Regions from separate parts of the Homo sapiens genome. Here regions 1, 2, 3, 4, 5 and 7 are each linked to region 6. The links are contacts of gene promoters, found by promoter capture Hi-C in blood cells and fetal thymus (Javierre and others, 2016). All regions are on one chromosome and are shown on one strand. Each heading gives the region's core, a stretch centred on a gene start or on the middle of the fragment in contact. The rest is flanking DNA. Distances are from core to core; before and after follow the strand shown. Region 1 overlaps ETV5 (ETS variant transcription factor 5). Region 2 overlaps DGKG (diacylglycerol kinase gamma). Region 3 overlaps ST6GAL1 (ST6 beta-galactoside alpha-2,6-sialyltransferase 1). Region 4 overlaps ST6GAL1 (ST6 beta-galactoside alpha-2,6-sialyltransferase 1). Region 5 overlaps ETV5 (ETS variant transcription factor 5). Region 6 holds the start of DNAJB11 (DnaJ heat shock protein family (Hsp40) member B11). Region 7 overlaps ETV5 (ETS variant transcription factor 5).

Region 1 (3,348 bases), core at 307-2,806, 480 kb before region 6:
ACAACTCAGTTGTTTTAAAATAGAAAAAATAAACTGGTCCATTCAAGAGAAATAATAATTCCCTCTGCTGACAAAAGCTGTTTACTGCCCACAAGTACAGGCCTGTGGACTGTTCAAGGCGGCCACCCCATGCCCGTGCTAATGGTAAACTTCACTATTACAGCCCCAAGGATCAAGACGTAGGAAAACACTTTTGTTGAATGTTATGATGAGCAACAGTTCCATTCAAAAGCATTTTTTTTTTTTTTAAGAAAGACGAAACCCATCTTGTCTAATAAGGCTTTCTTTGGTGTTTCATAATCATCAAAGTTTCAATTTGCCACAGACTTTGTTGTGAATACATAAAACATTTATGTAGCTGCTGAGTGTTAAAGAAATTGCCAATTAGTTACCCTGCGGTCTGAAGGGAAGAAGGACTAAGCCCATCCAGATTTCTCCTACTTCACACACAGGCTTTGACCGCCTTCCAGCAGTTGCCATCCTTCACGTTCTGTTTTGGGGTTTTCCTTGTCCCTTCTTCAGTTTCATTTACCTTCATCTGGCCCAGACTCATCTTTCCCAAATCAGCTGTGCAGGCCTGACCTCCAGGTCACACTCAACTGTCATTATCCTCTTAGTTCACATGGAAAGTTGTGTCTCATGACAGAAGCTGACCAGAGCACTGACACGTGCTTCTGAATGGCGTGTCCATGAGGCTGCAGCTCAGGGGGCTGGCCTAGGTCTCCAGAGCCTCCCATTACACTTGAACAAATATGATGTGGAATGTACACAAATAGTAATGGCCATACACTGCTCAGGGTTCCAGAGCCATCATCCTGAAATGAAGGCCTTCTCCTAAGTCTCCTGGCCACCAGCTTTGGGTCACTGCTCCTCTCTGTGACCACTGCCATCTCACTTCCTTTCCCTCTAGAGGAAGAATTACATACTGCATAGTCCAAGAATGGGGGTGGGAGGGGAGAGAAGTCCGAGACACCTGCCCATACTATTAATATTCTGTGGTTGTGGGAGTGAGTAGAACACAGGGAAAGAAGGTAGAGGAAAAGATGATCAAGAAGAGGGACATGGAAAAATAACAAGGACACTGGCAAAACAGAACCGAAAAATCCACCAGGGAAGAGCAGGTATGACCTCTTTTTCCCTGATTTGCCCTTAACTTGTCTGAGTACTCCACTGGCAAAGACCAGAGGGCTTTAAGTCACAGGAGGGAGTGTACCTTGTGCTTCCAACATAGTGCTGCCTACTCTTAGCTCTTGCCTTTTTTGACGAATTTTGAGACAAAGCTCAAATACCTAGTTAGCAGGAAAAAAGATGTAGATAGGGTAAGACTTATTTTTTAAGTTCTACAGTATTACCAGAGAGGGTCAGAAATATTTATTTTAGGACTGAGCAGATTAAAAACTCATTTTACACATAAAATCTATTATACCTCAATATTCTTTGTAACTGCTCTAACAGCACTAGTGAATGACTCTAATAGTAGATAATACTCTGTTCTGGGAAACAAGAAGGTTCACAAGGAGATAAGGTTAAGTGGACAGGTTCTGGCACTTAAAAAAGAATATCTGGAAAAGGAGATGTCTGGATTTCCAAACCAAATAAGAGGCATGCTCAAACTTGTTTAACATTGATCCTGCCTGGCAACAGTTTCCAAAAACAAAAATTGACAATGTTATCAAATTTAGTTAGGGGACACAAGTTCTAAAAGCAGAATTGGTGTAGGTATGGAAGAATGTGCCGTTTTTCTTTAATATCTCACACAGCTAACCTGTGTAAGGATAAATTCTCAAATTTAATAGGTGAAAAATCATCCACAAATGGTAAAATCAACTATTGAGCAAGCTGTGCTAAAAACCGTTTAATGAGCCCCCCAAAAGCCCTCTCCTCAAACATGCACAAATGATCTCTGACCCAATTATCTCCATCTGTGTCACTCTGTTCTTTCACCACTGTTTTAAGGTCAACACAAATACATAAATGTGAGAAGTGAGAGAATCAACAATATTAGAGATTTCTAAGCCTAAGGGCAGCATTTCTGGATGCTGTTTGCATTTCTATATATTCTTTAAAAATGGACCCTAAAAAAGTCAGCGACTGGCCAAGACTTCAAAAAAGTCACTGTTACAGGGAAAATAAAAAAGCTAGGGAGACTGTTGCATATTAAAGAAGACAAATGAAGCATAAACATAAATGCAATGTGTGATTTTAAATTGAATCCTAGATCAAAACCATTATCAACATTGCTAAAGAGATATCTGGAGACAACTGGGGAATTCCAAACATTACTGAATAAAAGTTAATTTTCTCAGGCTATGTAGGAGAATGTCAATCTGTGGAGACGCACACCAGGGTATTTGGGGTGAAATGTTATAATGCCTGAAACTTGCTTTCAAATGGTTAAGAAAAAACCATATATACACAGAGATGAAGCAAATGTAGCAATACGTTTTAAAAATAAATCAATAAAACAGCTATTATGTCCCATTTCCTCTGAGATATTTGGAGGAAAAAAAATCCTTTATCTTATAGTTGACTAACATGTCAAAAGTAGAAATGCTTAGAACCTCAAAACCATACGTCGACAAATGAAGAAAGCCACCCTTGGCCTGTTACTGAATTGGAAGGATAATACAGCCCTGGGAATCTAGCCTTACACAAGGATATATGCTGGTCATACCTAATGTCTACGCCAGTGGTTCTCAAACACATTTTGTTGGCTTTGGCCCACTTAGAAAGGACAAGGGAACACTCCAGAGATGGCAAAATAAAAACAGCCACTGCTGTCACTGTGACTACTGCCTGCTAATACTTCCATCAACCTGCCTGGGTAAAAAGATAGCAGTTACACAAATGCAAAATGATCAACAAAAATAACACCTATCAGTAACTATATTCATATTAATGCATCTATAACAGGAACTAAAATATATGCCCAAGTCAACCACAAACGATTCTTGAGAAAAAATGGAGAATTTCCACTCCTTGTGAATTTATATGTAAAACACGTTTAGGACAAATAGGTTGTCCAGAACAGCTGGACAACTCATTCGATTTCATCCCCAGGGTCCTCCAGAGAGTGCAAGGCAGCTATCACCAACCTGGGAAGGTTGGCAGAATTGAAGTTCTCTTTCTTATGGTTCTCCTTCATTTTCTTCCCTCATAAGCAGCTTGGGTTAGCCCTTTTTACCCCTAAATGCTGAGCAGGGCTGGGATCAGGACGAGAGGAAGCTGGAAATAGGTGGCCTATGCTTTCGCTGCTCTGAGCCTGGGGGCTCCAACTGTTCAGCCTAGTTTACCAGGCTAATAAAAAGGAACACGGGGCTGAAGACCTAAACTGTGTTGAAGTAAGTA
Region 2 (3,367 bases), core at 227-2,726, 410 kb before region 6:
TTGTTTTATTATTGCTCTTCTAATTTTAGTATTATTCATTACATTTTACTTCTTTTTTATATGATGGAAGATTATGAGGCTTTTAATTTACTTCCAAATATAGTTTAGGCTATATTCTATAATTTTTAAACTGGAGCCTTCTTATTTTTGTAATTTTTTGAGTAATCTACCATGGTGGCTTTGATCTCCTCATAAATCTCTTGTTGTTTAGGAGAATTTTTAAGTCTCCAAGTGACTAAATTTTGTTTATTCACTTAATCTTCTATTAGTAATTTCTAGCTTTATTACTTTGTGGTCAAAGAAAATGACCTTTATAATTTCTGCAACTGGATTTTATGGAGCTTTTTGCCTTGTAAACTAGTTTATGATCTAGTTTAATAAATATGAATGCCTGAACAAATATGATATTTAATTTCTTTATGAGTTATAGAGTTATTTCATCCAAGCATTTATTTTTTTGCTACTTAACCTCAAAGATGGAAACAAATATTTTCAAGCTTCTCAATATCTGTCTGTCAATTCTATATCAACCTTTTCTCAGAATATGTATTGATAGTTTTTTATATATTTTGATTCTGTTATTAAATATCTAACATTTTATGACCACTATATCTCATAATTGAATGTACTTTTTATCAAATAAAAAATGTGTTTACTTATTCTGCTTTATGCTTTAGGCACATGGAAAGGTTAGTTTGCCTAAAATTAGCATAATTAACATTACTATGTCTTCCTTTTAATTTCTTTATACCTGATAAAGGATAAAATAAGATATATATTATATATACGTATGTATAACCTTTCATTTTAGATGTATCTTTTGTAAGAAGCATATATTTGGATTTTCATTTTTAACTCAATATGAGAGTATTGATCTTTTAATAGGGAATTTTAACTCATCTATTTTTCTTTTATATATATATTATATATATACAGTCTTAACATCATTCAACTTGCTTCAAAAAATTTTTAAATGTTGGCTTATTTTTTGCTTTCTATCCTGTGCTACATTAATAGGGTTTATATATTTTAAATTCTTCCAGATTTGAAAGGTGTGCACCCTATTTTTAGTTTCGCTAGTGATTGTCTACCTATTAAAATTATCTTCTGATTTATACGTTTTGTCATCAAAGTGAAGAGAGACAATGAGAAACTTCACATATCTTTACTATTCCTTCAGCAGTGTCTCCTGCATGTTTTTGGCCTTTGTTAATATAATCTCAGGTTTGGGATACAGGTTATTAATATTTACATGATATGTCTTCTCTTTCAAAGAATGATTTTTTGCCATTTGCATTTATTGCATAAACATATTTAGCAGGTTTTTGGAAACTTCATTCTAATTTCACTGGTTTCCATTTTTACCAAAAGTTCTTTTGGGCTGTGATAGTCCATTCTTAAGGCTTTAATTTTGAATCACTTCTTAGTTGGTGTATACCTTCAAGAAGATGTTTCAACAAGGGGTACATGGGTTTTAACCCTTGCAAGTTTAAGAATGATTTTCTGTTACCTTCTGTTATGGAATAAATTGTGTCCCCCCCAAATTCATATGTTGAATTCCTAACCCCCAGTGTGACTATATTTGTAGGTAGGGCCTTTAAGGAGGTAATAACGGATAAATGAGGTCACAAGGGGCGGGGGGGCCATAATCCCTTAGAACTGGTGTCCTTATAAGAAGAGAAAAGAGTGTACAAACACAGAGGAAAAGCCATGTGAGGATACAACAAGAAGGCAGCCGTTGGAAGTTAGGAAGAGAGGCCTCCCCAGAAACCAGCCCTTCCGGCACCTTGGTCTTGTGTTGTCAGCCTCCAGAACTGTGAGAAAATAAATTTCTGTTGTTTAAGCTGTCAGTCTGTGGTATTCTATTATGGCACTCAAAGCAGACGAATATACCTTTACATACGGATTTCTGGGCCTCACACTATGAAATCATTGGTTCACAAATTTTTTCATAGTGAGTTGTAATCTCTAAAGGGTGGTATGGAGGAAGGGTGGGTGTGGGCATAGGGAGAAGCATTTGGCTATTTCAAAATCCAGTGCTTGAATTTATAGGAATAGCAATCCAGTTTTCAGCTAGGACTGAACCAGGTAGGAGAGGGTTTGATTTCTTCCACCTTTTTTTTTGTAGGGGGGTTGGAGATAAAAGGAACTTGGATAGATTCTTCTCAACTCAGTTCCATCAAATGATAAATAGTAGAAATTCCCTCTATGCGTCCTAACTCCAGCAAGGTGGAAAGCTATTATTTGATATAGTGTGTTTTCATTTTTTTCTTGGTCTTCATAAGATTGAGGTAAGATTTTTGCAGAGAAATTTCTGTTTTTGATAACCTTTATAGAAGATGCTACCTTTTCTCAGCAGGTTCATGGAAACCTTCCTTTAGTAGAAGACAATTTGATGTTCTGGAGGGCTCAAAATAGCAGGTGATCAAAGTATCTGAATACTCCACTAGAGTGAGGAAGCTTAGAAACTCCACTTTTGTCTTTTGAAATTTGCATAGCTGCAATCTTATTGAGGGTATTACGCATGTAGTATCCCAGCAGAGGCCCTGAAAACCAGGACGACGATTGCTCTTCACCACGAGATTCTAGCTGCATTTCTAACTGAGGACAAACTAAGAAGGAAGGATGCATGGCTCCTGTCCTAGTGCTAAAGGGAGAGCTAACGGATATGGTAAGTCTGGGAATGGAGATAGTCTATTTTTGTTAGTTCATTTGTTCAGTCTTTTATTCATCATTTGACATGTATTATTGTGCAACTATTACAAACCAGGCACTGTTCTACGTTCTGGGTGACAGTGCCATAAACAAAATAGATAACCTGCGTGGTGACTCATTCAGTGGAATTTTCAAGTAGGTTATCAGGGCTTTGGGTGCACCGACTGGGAGGCATGTCTGTGCTCTGCGAGGAATTTTCTCCCGGGAGCTCCAGCAGTCAAAGGCGCTACCCTACCAAATTCTAGGTAAGGTAAGTGTGTAGATTTGGCTTCCACGTAAGGAAGCAATTTGACTTGTTCATCAGCAGAACAGTCTTCCTTTTGAGGTAGTAAATTCCTTGCCATTGACATGATTCAAGCTGAGGCTGTCCAGGATACAGTAGATGAAGTCTCAGAATTCACTGACTAGAACTGTGAACTCCTCGAAGTTGGTTCTATGTCTCATTCAATTTTGTGACCGGCGCTTCACAGTGTCTGGCATATAGCAGGTTTTCATTAAGAGTTGCCAGGTAAATGAGTGGATGGATAATAAAGTGGAAGAGGGGTTGCACTAGATAATCTTCCACAGTCCCTGTGACTCTGAGATTCAGTGATTTCATATTAAGTCAGTGCCCAAAAGGGCTCAAAAATAAGGCTTCTCATCCCCATCTCAA
Region 3 (3,534 bases), core at 691-3,190, 470 kb after region 6:
TTGTAGTAAAGGTTCAATGAGATATTGCAAGGAAAGTGACTACCACGTAGTAGGCCCTCCTTAAATGCTACTTTCCTTCTTTTCTCTAGTTCTTCTTCAGTTGTCATATGGTCATGTGATTACCTGTGTTGGGTGTCTGCGGAAATTGAATTCCTTAGTTTCTGGTAATACAACAAGCTTCCACCCTTCACTTCATGATCTTCTATCTGAATTCTTCTTCCACTGTGTACATTTAATCATTTCCACAACTTCAGCAGCCCAAGATAGGAGCCCATCGTTCCCAGAGTCACTGGTTCCTGAGGTCTGGGATGGTGGAAGCACTGCTTTGGTTGGTACTGCCAATGGATTCCAGGAATGAGCTGGATGTCAGTTCATGGAGAATTCCCAGGGAAGAGCCTGGAGCTCAGGGCTGCTGAGTCATGGCTGTGGCTTCACACTGCTGTCTTCACTACCCGTATCACCTCCACATGGCCCCCAGGCTGAGCTGCTGCTCTCCTGTCTCTGTTCAGAATACCTTCTGTGCCTTTTTGCTTATCTAGTTCAAATCCAATGAATACCATGCTCTTGTTTTGCCCTCCCAACACTCTGCAAATCACATAGGGCAGAGATAATTATTCTGAAAAACTCAGGGGCAGAAATATTAAGTGACCTGCCCAAGGTCACCAAGAATGGGGATAAGAACCCAGGTTTTGTGAACACCCAGTCCAGTACTCCTACTACCTTTTCCTGATATCCTTAGGAGCGGGATCCATGGGAAGGGACCTCAGACCCCTAGTGGGTTAGCAAAACCCCGGAGGTGATTGCTTTGATTTATTATTGTAAATAAACCCAGTGATTGGGGAAAGAATGTAATGTTTTCCAAAAGATACAGACATTATTTGAGTTCAAAGTGCTTCCAGTTTCCATTCAGTTACACAATAAATTCTGAGAAAACAAAGTAGGTGTTTACTCAGAAATAAAGAGACTATTCAGTCTCTATTTGCTCAGTGAAATCTATTTTCCAGAGCTTCTTGCAGTTCTGTGCATGTTGTACTGGAAAGGACATGGGTTATGGAATCAAATCCACTTCGATTTGAACCTCAGTGCAACCATTTCCTCAGCTCTGTGAGCTTGGGCACTTCCCTTGACTTCTTAGAGCCTCAGGTTGCTAATCCATAAAATGGAGATTATAACACCTTTGAAGTGAACCCTGTACAGGTTAGGAGATGCCCTTCGTATTAGACTATGCTATGCGTGGTGCCCCCAGAGTTGTGTCTCATGGTGGCCCTGGTTATGGTGAAGTTAAGTGAAATAACATCTAGCGTGCTTAATGAATTTTTGTTTCCATTTCCTTAGTTGGCTACATGTCTGCTATCTTACCCAGAATTCCTAGCCTCTATCATGAGGTGAGTCAGCTTCCTGTCTCAGCAGTGCTCTTCTTGCAGGGCACTGCACAAAACTGTGGTGGAGATAACCCTCGATCTTCTCATGCAGGAGTCCAGCATCGCAGCCCTTAGAGAGATACATCAGAAATCTATGGCATCATCTATAACGAGAAGTCTTTTTCTGGCCATTTTGAAGGGGTGTTGGGCCACTTACTATTTTAGGAAGTTTAGGTCTGGTGATGTAAAACAGTCAGCCTGCTTTTTTTTATTCTATTTTTTTTTCAAGCATGCATGGCTTCATTTAACAAATGTTACAAGGCCCTAGGAACTGAGTGATTTGCAAGATGTGGTTTCTGACTTCAAGAAACTCAGAGTGCAGTCAGAGAGGTAGACCAAGGCAACCAGAAACTAATATTCAGCATAGAAAAAGTAATGATGGGAGGACATATAAAGTGTTCATGGCTCAAGAGGAAGAAGGGAGTGGAAGAGTGGAAGAGGAAGAGGGACTGCTGTCCACGTTCAAAGCCCAAATTGAGTCTGACTTTTGTCGAGAATTGCTTAACAGGCTGCAGAGGTGGCCAGGAGGTAGACCAGGGCTGGAATTCAAGTCACCTCATTTCAAATCTATTGCTCAGTCCATCGCTCCGCCTCATGCCACATTGGGTTTTTCTTTACATCATTTGTTTTTCCTTGTCTCACTTTTTTTAGGCTTGTTTTCCTGCTCAGAACAAAGTGACTTCCCTGAACACATCTTCATTATGATTCACACCAACCTGAAGAAAAAGTTCAGCTGCTGCGTCCTGGTCTTTCTTCTGTTTGCAGTCATCTGTGTGTGGAAGGAAAAGAAGAAAGGGAGTTACTATGATTCCTTTAAATTGCAAACCAAGGAATTCCAGGTGTTAAAGAGTCTGGGGAAATTGGCCATGGGGTCTGATTCCCAGTCTGTATCCTCAAGCAGCACCCAGGACCCCCACAGGGGCCGCCAGACCCTCGGCAGTCTCAGAGGCCTAGCCAAGGCCAAACCAGAGGCCTCCTTCCAGGTGTGGAACAAGGACAGCTCTTCCAAAAACCTTATCCCTAGGCTGCAAAAGATCTGGAAGAATTACCTAAGCATGAACAAGTACAAAGTGTCCTACAAGGGGCCAGGACCAGGCATCAAGTTCAGTGCAGAGGCCCTGCGCTGCCACCTCCGGGACCATGTGAATGTATCCATGGTAGAGGTCACAGATTTTCCCTTCAATACCTCTGAATGGGAGGGTTATCTGCCCAAGGAGAGCATTAGGACCAAGGCTGGGCCTTGGGGCAGGTGTGCTGTTGTGTCGTCAGCGGGATCTCTGAAGTCCTCCCAACTAGGCAGAGAAATCGGTATGTTCTGGGGTTGTTCTGTGAATGGCAGTGCTTATTGGGACTGGCTGGGCATATTGATGGTATGGGAGACAAGTGGCCCAAGTGTGGCTCAGCGGACCAGTGGAGTGGGCCCAGGGCAGTGTTTTTTTCAGAGTCACAAGTGACACAGAGGGAGTTGAACAGATGGCGCTCTAGGCCCCCGCATCTTTTATCAATTAGAAGAGCTTCATTATTGTTTCCTAATATTTTTAGTTGATATATAATAATTAGATATATTTATGGGGATATTTTGATACGTGTATTCAATGTGTAATGATCCAATCAGGGTAATTAGAATATCTATCACCTTGAACATTTATTGTTTCTTTGTGTTGGGAACAGAATAGTTTTATTTTCATCTGTTTTAAATATTGGAATTGTGTAGAAGATTTCATTTGAAAAAGAGAGTTCCGCTGCTACCAATAATCAAAAGCCTACAATTGACCTTTGAAAAGACTTGAAGCATAGATCTGCACATCATTTCCAGGTTCTGAAATTCTGTTGTTTTTCCTGATTAGTGGAGGACTCTATTGGCCTCAACAACCTGGGTAATTTTCAGCTTTTCTCTTTGAAAAGATTTAATTGGGTCAGTAATTCTTAACTGGGGGCTATGGACCAACTTCAGAGGGTCATGAATCCCTGCAATTGCGTGCAAAACTGTCTGTGGATTAGGTGTGTAGAATGTATGTGTATGCGTATAAGTGTGTCCGTGCATTTTTCCAGGAAGGGAGTTTGTAGACTGCAGTTTATTCTCTAAGGGATCTGTGACCCAAAAAAGTTTCAG
Region 4 (3,316 bases), core at 279-2,778, 490 kb after region 6:
GTCACAGAAGTACAAACACTGTATGATTCCACTTTATATGGAACACCTGGAGTAGAAACAAAGTAGAATGATGTTTGCCAAGGGCTAGGAGGAGAAAGGAATGTGGAATTGTTGTTTAATGAATACTGTGATTCATTTTGGGAAGCTGAAAAAGTTCTGGAGATGGTGGTGATAGTTACACAACAATAGGAATGTACTAAGCTGAATACTTAAAGTTGCTAAAATGGTCAATTTTATGTTATGTATATTTTAAAAGCTTTCTTTTAAATCAACAGGGAGAAACCAGTTGATAGAGGGAGAAAGTGAATATACTAAAAAGAGGAGAAAATGATTAGTTACCCACAACATGATGGTGGTGGAGCCAAAGCGTAGTGGAGGATGAACCCCAGCAGGCGGGAGTCAGAGGGAAGAAGGTGCGAGTGGTGTAGCTGGAGGCAGTCAGTATTAGAAGGATGAGAGGGCTTCTATTTTCTCTGCAAAGTGGCATGCAAGGCCAAGTCAGAAGGAGGCTGAGGGGGAAAGAGGTTTTAGTAGAGAAGGTTTGAACAAAGAGATTTATAATTGTCATTGAGGTGAGTGGGACCGTCAGTAAACCTGATGAATGGAGTAGGATTTCCAGGCCATGCTGGGCTACTTTGAGGTTGAAGAGAATGAATTTAGAGAGAAACCAATCTCTGTTTGATACATGGATGGTAGGATCTGGAGGTGAGCAGGCAGCAGCAAAGAGGAGAGGGGAGAGGGGAGGAGCCCTCCCTGAGCACTCTCTTGGACTGCGGAGGCTACCTACTCTCTGAGCACTTCTTCGTGATGATTCAGTCTTCCTCACTGTGAAGAACGAAACCCCAGTCCTGCAAAGATTTGAAACTGTATTTAAGGCCAAAGTAAGGTTGCCTGGGAATTAAGAGTACTGGAGTCAGGCAGGCTTTGATCAGATCCCTCCCCCAACACTTCCTGTGTGAGTGACTTCAGCAAGTTGCTTTACTTTACCTTTCTGAGCCTCATTTCCCTTACTTGTAACACAGAAATATGAATAGTTACTATCCAGGGTTTTTTTTTAGGATCAAAGGAGTTACTATGTGTGGAGCATGTCACCCAGAGGCTGGTATGCAGCAAGTGCTTTGTAAATAGTAGCGATGGGCACTACTGAAACCTGAATGTCTGCCTCTGCCTGTTTGCGAATGACTCCACCTTCCCAAATCCCAACAGGGAAGGTGAGTCAGCTTGAGACCACTTGAGAGGCATCTAGCAGAAGGGAGGCAAAACTTCTGTTAAAGGATAATTTTTAGGGAAAAAAAGGTAAGATGATGACTCTCATACAGATATTAAAAATGAATTCATCATGAAGATTTTATTTTACTCGTATGATGGAACCAGGCAGATATTACAACTGGTTCAAAGGAAAAGTCAAAGCAACACAAATTTGGAGTAAAGGAGTTGAACTAGTTTTTCTGTGAGATAAGGCAGGGGGAGGGGAGAAATCAATTGAAACTCTCCTGGGCAGCATCCTGCCCAGTAGGCACATGTATTAGTTGCCTACAATTCACAAAGGGTTGCGAAATAGCTCCCGTGGAATCAGAATCTGACAGGGAGGAAGAGTGTGCTCAGAAAATGCATGGCTTTCTACTGAAGCAGATTTTTTTCCCATTACACTTCTAGATCTCTGTGCACCATTGTGCCAGGGCTGCGAGGAAGGTGGCCCACTTCCCGGGATACACTACCCACCCTCAAGAGAGCCTTTCCTGCTGCTTCTTAGGCAAGTCAGCTCTCTTTTCTCACCTCCTGTAAGCAACACTAAGTATCTGGCTGTTCCTTTCGTACTCGAGTCCTGGCCGCTCCATGACAGCACTTGTGGTGGTACTGAACTGTGATGGACACTTTCTATCATTGCCCTTTCTTACCTTGATATCCTAAAAAGCTGGTGGTCTGTCTTCTCTATCTTTTGTCCTGGTCAGTTATCCTAACTATTTTGTGTCTGTTTCTGTGGATTAGTAAACGGGGTCCCCACCCCCACTCCACAAGGAGAACATCTGGCACCCAGAAGTCACTGAGAGAATAGCTGTTGCTTTGGTAGAATTCTGCCTCTGAGTGGCTTGTTCTTTTCCCAGACGGAGAGGTCTCCTGACAGCAGCTCTCTTCTTTTTCTTTTTTTTTTTTTTTGAGACAGAGTTTTGCTCTTGCGCTCAGGCTGGAGTGCAGTGGTGCACTCTCGGCTCCCTGCTCTGCCTCCTGGGTTCAAGTGATTCCCCTGCCTCGGTCTCCCAAGTAGCTGAGATTACAGGCATGCACCACCATGCCCAGCTAATTTTTTGTATTTTTAGTAGAGACAGGGTTTTGCCATGTTTGCCAGACTAGTCTCAAACTCCTGACCTCAGGTGATCCACCTGCCTCAGCCTCCCAAAGTGCTGGGATTACAGGCATGAGCCACTGCGCCTGGCTTTAGCAGCTCTCTTCTAAAGCCATCTGGACCCACATTTGTTCAGCTCCCCTCCCTTGGCCATGATGAAGGCATGCAAAACAAAAAAGGCACTTTTCTTATTGAGAAGGTGGCTTTTTATAGAGAATGGTGTCATACTGTTAGGTTTCAGGCCAGCAGACCTAGTCAGGCATGTGACACTTCTGTGCCAGGTGTGGCTATGAGAGTCAACAGGAAAAATGATATATGTAAATGGACAGGTCTTTAAATAAATGCAGTTTTGACTATAAGAGTAAGAAGGTTTCTGTGAGACTCAACTCAGTACCTCCTGTACCCTGTGGGCCTGAGAGAGGAGACAATGGGACAAGAAGACCCAGTGGCTTCCTTGGAAGCTTTTGTGCTAGCTGGAGAGAGAAGACCTACTTCCTATATGCCTAGCAACAGTCCACACTGACTGGACTGCAACCAGGACATTTCCAGATTACTCAGTGGGGCTTATCTTGAAATAATAGTTGATGCCATTTGTTAAATATATTATATATACCATCTAAGGGTCTTACATGCCTTCTCTCATTTGATCTTCATGGCAAACCCTGTGAGGTATGACCACCAACCACCATTTTACCTCAGAACTCAGGCTCCCAGAGTTTAAGTTGCTCACAGGAGCCCAGAAAGTAAGCGACAGAGGTGGGATTTGGTTCTAGGTGTTTGCCACCAGCACTTTAAATCACCAAAGCTTTCTGGAAGCTCCAACTTTTCTTCTCAAGATACTGAAAGACAGGTATCTGGATGGGTTGGCAGGGCGGGTGGGAGGTGGGCGAGATTTCCATCAACAACGGGTCTAAAACCAGCGATGGTGAGCTGGGTGATTTTGATGGAACCCCTGCCATACAGTCTATTAAT
Region 5 (3,135 bases), core at 43-2,542, 470 kb before region 6:
AAGGAATGTTTAGCTGTTACCTCTGCTCTTACATTTAAAAGATTTGGAATACCCAACTTTTTACTTAGAGAGAGACCTAAGATACTCTCTCTCCAGTGGCATTTTTACACACATACACCCACCTACCCAGAGATAAAACAAAGCTGGGAAGAATCTGTTGGTCCAAAATGAGAAATTGAGTCCTTGCATGGCTCAGGTGCTTGCTATTATAAACTATGACTAAGAGACATGAATTTCTCTATGATGCAACTCTCAAGAGAGGCAGCATTTTCTCCAGGCCTCTCTTAAACCTGCTCATTCGCCAGTGACTAATGCTCTCTAGAGCAGCCCTGTGCTGCTCAAATTTCATCAGCCGGCTTTGTCCTTCATAACTCTGCCTAGACCATAAAAGCTCCCAAACCTGTTGAGGACAGCCCCAAAAGATCAGTGCAAAGTAACCATGCCCCTGCCAGTGTTGAAAGCCATCTTTTGAGCTTCCCACTGCATTTTCTCTCTAGTAATGAGCACTTAGTGGCCATTTTAAGAAAAAGTTTCTCTTCTCTGAAGAGAAAAGCCACAGCAACTACACGAAAAGTAAGAGTAAATCAGGCCACTCTGTGACCACCCCTTGTCAGCTTAGGGGTAGAGACAAAATTGACAACATGTTGGATGAAGCCAAAGTTAACTGGAGTTTTCCATTAACTATTTTCTGCACCTTTAAGAAAAAGAGAAATATCAGGTTCATGATTCACATCAAGGACTTAATTTATAAAACAAACCCCAAAAAAGCCATAAAACAATGTGTGATTAATAGATGCTTGGCCTAACACCAAATATATTTTGTCAGTTAATTTATAATTTTGAGCTTAAAGCTTTGCAATATTCTTTTTTTTTTTTTTTTTGAGATGGAGTCTTGCTCTGTTGCCCAGGCTGGAGTGCAGTGATGCGATCTCAGCTCACTGCAACCTCCGCCTTCTGGATTTAAGTGATTCTCCTGCCTCAGCCTCCTGAGTAGCTTGGATTACAGGCGCCCACCACCACACCTGGCTAATTTTTGTATTTTTAGTAGAGACGGGGTTTCACCATATTGGCCAGGCTGGTCTTGAATGCCTGACCTCAAGTGATCCACCTGCCTCAGCCTCCCAAAGCCCTGGGATTATAGGTGTGAGCCACTGTGCCCAGTCAGCTTTACAATATTCTTAAGGTAAAAAGAAATTTAGGATAAAATTATGTTCAGTAAATCTTACCTGCAATACAGTAGAAATACTTTAGAAATAATTTTATTATGAAATAAAAGTTTTCAGGGTTAATTCTGAATTATTAGAAGAAACTAAATGCATACTACTGTCTAAATCTGGCCATAGCTGAAAAAAGCATATTCTAGACATGGATGATCTAAGACCAAACAATTTCAGAACAAATGTGCCATCACCAGAAAGGTACTTACGGTTATCAGACTGAAAATCTGGGACAAACTGTTCATCATCAGGAACTTGTGCTGGAAAATAGATTTTTATTTTAGACCTTTAAGTTTTATTAAAAAGCACAGTAAAATGTTTTATATGGAAAATAGGACATCCATGAAACTTGCCTTCAGCTAACCAAGCCTCTTGAAGTTGACTGAGATCCTGAAATAGCTCTGAAATTGAAAAAGAAGACCCCAGAATGAGGATATTTCTTTCGCTAGGGAGAAGACAGGGAAGAATCTACACGCTACTGTCACTGGGAGCAGGGAAGCCACAACATAATCAGGGAAAGCTTTACTACCTTCAGAATCGTGAGCCAGATCTGTGTCCAAAAACTTCCTCTTTCTGTCAATCACAGGCCGCCCTCTGCATTCCTCAGATCGAGATTTCTGAAAGAGGCCAACAGAAAGTGAAGGCTCAAGTGTAGTAAAGAGGTCCACAGGGGGAAGACTCATATTGGAGAGGGAGGACAAAACAAACCAAAAGCCACATAAACTTACCCCTGGGACCATAAAAGGGACTTGCTGATCATAAAACCCGTCCATGGTGCTTTCAGCGTCTCTAATACCACTTTGAGAGGTTTCAGCATTGAGTAATTTCTGGGGGAAAAGGGATCCTCCTGTAATATGAATTTGGGAGATTTTAACTAAGAGGGGGGAAAAAAAGAAATGAAACAATTTTAGACTGCCTTTTTTTTAGGGCCTGTGCAAAATTATTACCCTTCTGTGAAGTACTTAAAACCTACTCAAGGTGCAAGCTTTACACACCAATGCCGGGCTTGATTAATGGTATCAGAGGTACAGGATGTACTCCGTGCCAAATCCATTTACCCAGTCATCATTTTTTCTTTCTTATTTAAATCATTAAAATTACAGATTTGCTACTGTCTGTTCTCTACCAAAACAAAAATAAATAAATAAAATAAAATAAAAGGGTGATTTCAAGATTCTCTCATATACTCCAGGGCATTTGTAGTAGGGTTTTTAAAAAAGAGATAATTTAATTTTTGACAGTACAGTGTCAGGAAGCAGAGAAACTGGGTTTAAGTATTCCAAATTATTGGCAATTAAAGATCTGACATACATGGTGTTTCCAAAAGCATTTTGTAGGTCACTGTTAAAACACTATATATAGTTCCTGGAATAAATTGATCAGAGGTATACTTATCTTCACACACAACTCTTTATTTAAAAGAGGACTAAACAGATATAGCATCTGTAATGTCACAAATATCTCCCTGGTTACTTACAGAGATATTTGTGACATCTCCAACTTCTAAAAGAGTAAAATGTCTATGAAAAGTAATGGATTAAAAAAACTAATTCCATTGCATGTGGTACAATGCATCTCTACCAAAGGTCTTTTAAAACTTAGGCTGTTTCATATAGCGGAATCATTTTTTTCTAGACATACCCCCCCACCCCCAAATGAAACTCATTTCAGGACGGGTAAGTGTGTGAGTCTGGGGAAAAAGGGTGGGGTTAGAAGGGAGAAAACTTCTCCTAACGTGAGTGGAATAAAGTAACAATTTCAGGGAGGTACCATCTTCCTAAACACTTTTATTCTTCAAATAAAAACACCGTTAAGTCAACAAAAGGTGGAAAAACATTAATTTCACTCACTCCAGCTCTAAGCAATTCAAAATGCTTAAAGGTCAACTTCTTTTGTTTGACATATACACAATTTTAAA
Region 6 (3,429 bases), core at 586-3,085:
AGAGCGAGACTCTGTCTCAGGAAAAAAAAAGAAATAAAGAAAAGAAAACAGGGTGGTGTAAGAGTAAGGAACTCAGTAGGGGCTAATTTTGATTAATTGGTCAGGGAAAGTCCTCCCTGAGGTGGCGACCTTTAAGCTGATATATGAGTTAAAGAAGGAATCACCCATGCTAGCACATGAGGGAGAGTACAGTGTTTCAGGCAAAGGCAATAGCTAGCACAAAGGCCCTCGGCAGGAATGAGCTCGGTGTATACAAAAAAAAGAAAGGAAGCAAGTTTTGCTGGAGCATGGTTAGGAGTATAATAGGTTTACAAAGCATAAACGGCTTTGTAAACTAGCATGGAGTTGGGATTTTATTCTAAGTGCAAATGAAGAGCCATTCCAGGCTTTTAAACAGGGGAGTGACATGATTTGACTTTTATTTTTTATTTATTTATTTATTTATTTATTTTGAAACGGTGTGTCACTCTGTCGCCCAGGCTGGAGTGCAGTGGCAGGAACTCGGCTCACTGCAACCTCCACCTCCCAGGTTCAAGCAATTCTCCTGCCTCAGGCTCCCGAGCAGCTGGGGTTACAGGCGCTCGCCACCACACCTGGCTAATTTTTGTAGTTTTAGTAGAGACAGGGTTTCATCATGTTGGCCAGCCTGGTCTCAAGCTCCTGACCTCAGGTGCTCCGCCCGTCTCGGCCTCGCAAAGTGCTGATTACACTTTGGGTGGGTGAGCCACCGCGCCCGGGCTTTTTTTTTTTTTTTTTAAATCATGGAGTGAGGGACAGGGATGAGCAACATATATTAAGATATTAAGGAAGATATTAAGAGTGGGGGCAAGGAGGCCAGTTAGGAGGCCCTGGCCAGGTGAGAGATACACTGTGACCCAGAATCCTGGTAATGGAGATGTAGTGAACAGATTGAAGTATAGTTCAGAGGTAAAGAGTTGGATAGCTTATGCATGAAAGGAATAAAAACACCTAGAGCTTTGTCCTGATCAACTAGGTGTTGTGTAACTGCGATGAGCAAAATCGGGGGGAAGATGGGGAATCAAAGAGTTCTGCTTGAACCGTAATAATGGTTTTTACTCGTTGCCTGCTTACTATACGCCCGATGATTTACCGATTTTTTTCCCTGTTAAAATTCACAGAACTGCCAATAAGTGCTTTGCCTCAGTTTTGTTGATAAACTTAGGCTCAGACTTGGGAGGAGGGGAGGGGTGGGGGGTCTCACCACTAAGAAGCGGTGGAAGCCGAATCCGAACTTAAGTCGGTCTGTCATCACTGTAGCCTTTCCGAGACAGTTGTCTTATGGAGTTGCTTGGAGAACGTAAAATAAGAGGCCTAAGCAATGCGTCTGATGTACACCTGTCGTGGAATAACTGTTCCCGCTCATTCGGCCGCTGTACCTCTGCTCCCTCATTCGGAGCGTAGCTGGGTATGAATGAAATTCCGGGCTTGTAGCACAGAGAAAACTTCTCTCCCACAATTGGTTGGTGCTGGGGAGGAAGCTCCTGATTGGTGGAAAGTCCGAGGAAGTGGGCAAGCCGGAGGGATTTCGTGTACCTCAGGTGCCCTCACTCTGACCGGCCCCCTATCATTACGTAATTTTCTACGACTCGCGGTAGCTCAGGCAGAGCGGGTTCCTGCAGCGGCGCGACCCTCTGACGTCTCCGCTTCTAATTGGTCAAGAGCTGCGACTGCAGTTCTGAAGCCTAACTGGTTGCCCGTGCCGCCTCGGAGGTGAAGTGTACTGCGCTGATTGGCTTCCAGGCGCCGGCCGCGTGTGATGTCCCGGGCAACGATTGGCTCTCGCCTACCGGGGGCTTCTCTCACCGGGACTCGGGACTCCCGGGAAGTGGACCGGCAGAAGAGGGGGCTAGCTAGCTGTCTCTGCGGACCAAGGAGACCCCCGCGCCCCCCCGGTGTGAGGCGGCCTCACAGGGCCGGGTGGGCTGGCGAGCCGACGCGGCGGCGGAGGAGGCTGTGAGGAGTGTGTGGAACAGGACCCGGGACAGAGGAACCATGGCTCCGCAGAACCTGAGCACCTTTTGCCTGTTGCTGCTATACCTCATCGGGGCGGTGATTGCCGGGTGAGGAACAGACACTCGCAGACAACGGGGCCTGTGGGTCAGCCTTTGCTGGGGGGTGGGAGGGGGTGGGGGAAGTGGCATTGCCAGACTGACGGAGTGGAGAGGGGCATCGCTGTGGGTTGGCGGGGTGGCGGAGGAAGGGGTAGTATGGGCCAGGCTAGTGGGGTGAGAGGAGAACCGTGGGTGACACCAGTGAGAGGGCCTTAGGTCCAGAGAGGGTCTTAGGTAGAGCTAGATTTGCCCAGAGGAGTGGGAGTTGGATGCATTGCCAAACGGCATTTGGGGGATGAGGGAAAGAAGGTGGTTGCGAGCTGAAGCAGTGTCACGTAGAGCTGGGGAAGAAAGAGGGATGCCTGACTGTAAGGAAAGATAGTGACAGTGCCAGGCTGAGGTTGAGGGGATGGACGTTTGTTTGATCAAAGAGGTGAGTTGCTGTGCCCCGCTGAGGTGGAGAAGCGGACGATGCTCTATGCCAAGCCTTCGAAGAGCCATTCTGGGGCTGACATTAAAGTGGGTGGATGATGCCAGCCCGAGTTGGGACTGAACGAAATTGGATGCGGGATGGGAACAAGAAGATCTTTAGACAGCCCTTGTACTTCCCAGCTTCTTGAGCTATTTATTATCTTAAGTTGCTTCATCTTTAACATTCTGGCAGTGCTACTGTTAGGACATTTATGTGGCATAATCTTTTTAAAGAAGGAAAATCATCCTTTGAGAGTGTTATTTGACTTTTAGAAAAGTCAAAATCATTTGGAGCCAGTATAGGGAAAGGGGGGAAGAGTTAATTTGATTATATGGTTATTGCCTAAAGATAACATGAGACCATAAAATAAGGAAGTGGTTTTCTTGACCGAAGGTGGTTCTGAAAGAAAAGTGCCACAGATGTTTTGAATAATCCGAAAAGAAGTATATAGCCTCTTACTGTGATTACTTCAATATATAAGATTCATTACAAATTCTGGTGTTCTCTCTTTAGTCATTCTTTGTGTGTGTATGTGTCACATAAACCTTCATTTTTATACCTCTTTGCTCAGATACAAACCTAAATGTAGAGGAAAAATAAATCTTTTACTTTGAAAAATGTAACATGTAACTCTTTAATGAAGTATTCTCTCCCTCTACTTCCCAGACGAGATTTCTATAAGATCTTGGGGGTGCCTCGAAGTGCCTCTATAAAGGATATTAAAAAGGCCTATAGGAAACTAGCCCTGCAGCTTCATCCCGACCGGAACCCTGATGATCCACAAGCCCAGGAGAAATTCCAGGATCTGGGTGCTGCTTATGAGGTGAGTTGGGAAAAGTGATAAAGTACGAATAAAATCTGTAGCTCTAGAAAAAACATACAATA
Region 7 (3,352 bases), core at 223-2,722, 500 kb before region 6:
ATGTTTACACACGATCACTACCTCACACTTGGTAATTTTTCTGTCATAAAGCAACAGGTCTCTCCCTTCTGCCTATTTCCTCAGCATTTCCCATAACCAACTGGTGCCTGAATAGATCAATCTATGTATTATCTCAGAGAAGGTCGAGCAAATTCCATCCAAAACTGAACCCCAACACTCTCCAGGCTTGGACTCAGAGATGTACTTCATACCACTTCTGAATGCCTACCGCACTTCCTACCACTTACATAGCTTTTCTGTTTTGTTTTGTATTCCATTGCGCATAAACATGTCAGCTCTACTAGCTCCTAAGTTATTTGAGGGCAATTCTTATAAAAATTATAAAAAATTCTTATAAAAATTCCTGTCCCCAAGGCCCTGCATGTATAAGACACTGAATAACGAGACAGAAGAATGCAAGAATGAAGCAAAGAATAGCACAATTTGATGCTGACCTGAATCGACGCAGTAATCCCGAGGCTCCTGCTTGATTCCCATTGGTGACTGGAACCCGTGTGCTGGGGGCCCTGGCATGCCCGGGACCCCATGTTCATAGAGTGGGTCATGGTATTCTTGTTTGAATCCCTGAGGGGGCGGGGGAGCTGCAGGGACAATAGGTTCTGACATTTGCCGATGGTAACTGGGGCGATTATCTCCAGGAACTCCTGGCTGAGGAGGGAAGGGGTGGCAGGGTTCAGACAGTTGTCTCTGAAATCTGTAAGAAGAAAGAGGTTTTCATGTTGAACAAAGACTTGATGAATTCCTACTATGATTGAGCACTGGGGACTAGAAGTTCCAATTAATGAAATTATTTGCAAAGTACTTAATAATGCTTATTTCTGGGCATTTTACCCTCTTCCCAAAATTACATTGTGTATTTCGAAGCTCTTGAGTCAGGAAGTGGCAAAAAAAAAAAAAAAAAATCAAAGCAATGATGTGGTAGCCTCTTATCTTCCATGTATGTATATTTTATGCACAGTCTATCTGTATAGATGGGCCAGATTATGTATCTGAATATATGAGACCAATTATCTGCAAATAGCACTAACATATACATAAATGTTTGTTCACTAGTTCATCCATTCTCTCACCTATAGATAGAAGGAATTTTTAAAGACTGAATACAAATTAACCAGTTAGAAAATGTAGTTAAAAAGAAAAAAGAGAGAGAATCCCATTCATAGTAGCAATAAAAAACATAACATTCCTAGGAATAATCAGGAAACCTATAGGCCATATAAGAATAAAATCTCAAAATTGTTTTCAGAGGAAAAGAAAGAAAAAAGATTTAAGAGAATATATTTAGGACTTTGAAGCTATTGATTCACTGAAAATTAATCTATAAAAGCAAATGCCTTCCCAACTAACTTGACAAAATGATTCTAAACTTTATTTTGAAAAGGCATAAGGACCCACTAGCTACTGACATATGTCATAAAACTTCAATAATTAAAACAATAATACAACAAATTGAGAGATTGGCAGGTCAAAGGAATTTAATGGCAAGCCAAAAACTGTCAAGTATATTCCAAAATTTACTACTTGTTAAGGTTAGCATTTCAAATTAGTTGGGGAAAAAAGTTAGACCCCATTTTATACAGATACCAAAATAAATTTCATATGGATTAAAGGTTCCAATATAAAAAGTGAAACCAGGCCAGGCATTGTGGCTCATGCCAGTAATCCCAGCACTTTGGGAGGCTGAGGCGGGCAGATCGCTTGAGGTCAGGAGTTCAAGACCAACCTGGCCAACGTGCCAAAACCCCATCTCTACTAAAAATACAAAAAAATTGGCCCAGCACGGTGGTGGCTCATGCCTGTAATCCCAGCACTTTGGGAGGCCAATGCGGGGGGATCACGAGGTCAAGAGATTGAGACCATCCTGGCCAACATGGTGAAACCCGTCTCTACTAAAAATACAAAAATTAGCTGGATGTGGTTGTGCGCGCCTGTAGTCCCAGCTACTCTGGAGGCTGAGGCAGAAGAATCGCTTGAACCTGGGAGGCGGAGTTTGCTGTAAGCTGAGATAGCGCCACTGCACACCAGCCTTGTGACAGAGCGAGACTCCGTCTCAAAATAAACAACAACAAAAAAACCTAAAAAAATTAGCCAGGCGTGGTTTTGTGCACCTGTAATCCCAGCTACTCAGGAGGCTGCGGCATCAGAATCACTTGAACCCAGGAGGTGAAGGTTGCAGTGAGCCGAGATTGCGCCACTGTACTCTAGCCTGGGCAACAGAGCAAGACTGTCTCAAAAAAAAAAAAAAGTGAAACCATCATATGAAAGTAAATATATATGAAAACTTACAAAACTTGGGAGTGAGGGAAAACCTAAGTATCATACCAACAGCAGAAATCATCAAGATAAACCTGGATATACCTCACTGTATAAATTTCTATAACTTAAAAAGACATCGGAAACAAAACCAAAAGAAACACATCAAACCAGGGGGAAAGAATCTGCAGTAGTCAGAAAACACCAGAAACAAAACCAAAAGTAAAACTGAGGAAAAATCTCCACAGATACAGGAATCTCACTGTTGGCAAAAAGAGCTTTTAGAAATTAACAAAAGATGAATATCTCAAGAGGAAAAAAATGGGCAAAGGACATAAACAGGAATATCCTTACAGAATAGGAATGGTCATAAACAAAAAGTTTAACTCATTAGTAATTAAAAAAGTAACAAAGTCAGAAGAGAAGTGTTTTTCCTTTTAGCTTGGAAGATGAGCAGGCAGTTACTAATTCTGTGCCAGGTACCTGAACAGCAATTCAGTCACAGATGATCAGGTATAACTACAAAGATGGTCACCAATGCAGCTGTCTAACAAGGAAACTGGCTATATATATTATGATACAGTCATTTGGTTGAAAGCAACCATTAGAAATTACATAATATGTAAATATATAAGGTCTTGGAAAGGTATTTTTGACATATTAAGGAAGGTTGCTAAACAGTACGTAGAGTATCAAAGCTTAGCAAAAATAAAAGTAGTAGTATGGTGTCATATAAAACCACAGAAAGACTGACATTTAGATATTAACACTGCCTATCTGTGGGGTGGTTATAATTTTAGGTGATTTTCTTTTTTTGCTCATCTATAGTTTGATAATAAATATGCACTGTTTTTTAACAAGATAGAATAAAAACCTGTTGCTACTAGTCGAGTTTCCTTAACACTCTTCAGCTGTCAGATAAATCCAGATGTGTGCCAGCTGCCCTTTCCCTGTTGGGTGTGCAGTGTAGAAGGGAAAGCCTGCCGTGCCTTAGTAGGGAAGTGACCAAAGGCAAAGTTTCTTGGCTTTGTTTGCTTATCTGTGACATGGGGATGTATTATCCTCCAAATGCTCCTGA

What was found. The method cuts DNA at HindIII sites, captures the fragments that hold promoters and counts their contacts. A CHiCAGO score of 5 or more calls a contact.
Region 1: a fragment that was not itself captured here is called in contact with the fragment with the promoter of DNAJB11 in region 6 in 1 of 17 cell types (naive B cells); the score reaches 6.9 in naive B cells.
Region 2: a contact is called between a fragment that was not itself captured here and the fragment with the promoter of DNAJB11 in region 6, in 1 of 17 cell types (total B cells). The highest score is 5.4, in total B cells.
Region 3: a fragment that was not itself captured here is called in contact with the fragment with the promoter of DNAJB11 in region 6 in 1 of 17 cell types (activated CD4 T cells); the score reaches 5.3 in activated CD4 T cells.
Region 4: a contact is called between a fragment that was not itself captured here and the fragment with the promoter of DNAJB11 in region 6, in 2 of 17 cell types (naive CD8 T cells and activated CD4 T cells). The highest score is 5.2, in naive CD8 T cells.
Region 5: a fragment that was not itself captured here is called in contact with the fragment with the promoter of DNAJB11 in region 6 in 2 of 17 cell types (naive B cells and total B cells); the score reaches 6.7 in naive B cells.
Region 7: a contact is called between a fragment that was not itself captured here and the fragment with the promoter of DNAJB11 in region 6, in 2 of 17 cell types (activated CD4 T cells and naive B cells). The highest score is 6.1, in activated CD4 T cells.

The regions. Positions count from the first base shown.
Region 1 is chr3:186,087,605-186,090,952 of GRCh38, forward strand. All of the region lies in intron 5 of ETV5 (ETS variant transcription factor 5), which reads right to left. Among named protein-coding and RNA genes, the nearest start is that of ETV5-AS1, 10 kb to the left of the region's middle. The HindIII fragment of the contact is 4,166 bases long and covers 1-3,348 here.
Region 2 is chr3:186,158,219-186,161,585 of GRCh38, forward strand. The region is part of intron 24 of DGKG (diacylglycerol kinase gamma); the gene reads right to left. Among named protein-coding and RNA genes, the nearest start is that of ETV5, 51 kb to the left of the region's middle. The HindIII fragment of the contact is 1,963 bases long and covers 496-2,458 here.
Region 3 is chr3:187,040,582-187,044,115 of GRCh38, forward strand. It overlaps ST6GAL1 (ST6 beta-galactoside alpha-2,6-sialyltransferase 1), which reads left to right. Exons shown (of 8, transcript NM_173216.2): 4 at 2,073-2,729. The coding sequence starts at 2,123. Among named protein-coding and RNA genes, the nearest start is that of RPL39L, 97 kb to the right of the region's middle. RefSeq lists an enhancer at 1,253-1,322. The HindIII fragment of the contact is 3,531 bases long and covers 176-3,534 here.
Region 4 is chr3:187,062,864-187,066,179 of GRCh38, forward strand. All of the region lies in intron 5 of ST6GAL1 (ST6 beta-galactoside alpha-2,6-sialyltransferase 1), which reads left to right. Among named protein-coding and RNA genes, the nearest start is that of RPL39L, 75 kb to the right of the region's middle. RefSeq lists an enhancer at 2,771-2,950. The HindIII fragment of the contact is 2,549 bases long and covers 255-2,803 here.
Region 5 is chr3:186,103,879-186,107,013 of GRCh38, forward strand. ETV5 (ETS variant transcription factor 5) reads right to left here. Exons shown (of 13, transcript NM_004454.3): 2 at 1,946-2,064; 3 at 1,747-1,834; 4 at 1,571-1,618; 5 at 1,427-1,477. The coding sequence starts at 1,990. Among named protein-coding and RNA genes, the nearest start is that of ETV5, 3.6 kb to the right of the region's middle. The HindIII fragment of the contact is 886 bases long and covers 850-1,735 here.
Region 6 is chr3:186,568,885-186,572,313 of GRCh38, forward strand. DNAJB11 (DnaJ heat shock protein family (Hsp40) member B11) reads left to right here and starts at 1,836. Exons shown (of 10, transcript NM_016306.6): 1 at 1,836-2,081; 2 at 3,211-3,367. The coding sequence starts at 2,014. It also overlaps a transcript of TBCCD1 not described here. RefSeq lists a silencer at 1,848-2,087. The HindIII fragment of the contact is 6,099 bases long and covers 1-3,429 here.
Region 7 is chr3:186,065,358-186,068,709 of GRCh38, forward strand. It overlaps ETV5 (ETS variant transcription factor 5), which reads right to left. Exons shown (of 13, transcript NM_004454.3): 8 at 456-715. Among named protein-coding and RNA genes, the nearest start is that of ETV5-AS1, 12 kb to the right of the region's middle. The HindIII fragment of the contact is 2,996 bases long and covers 1-2,970 here.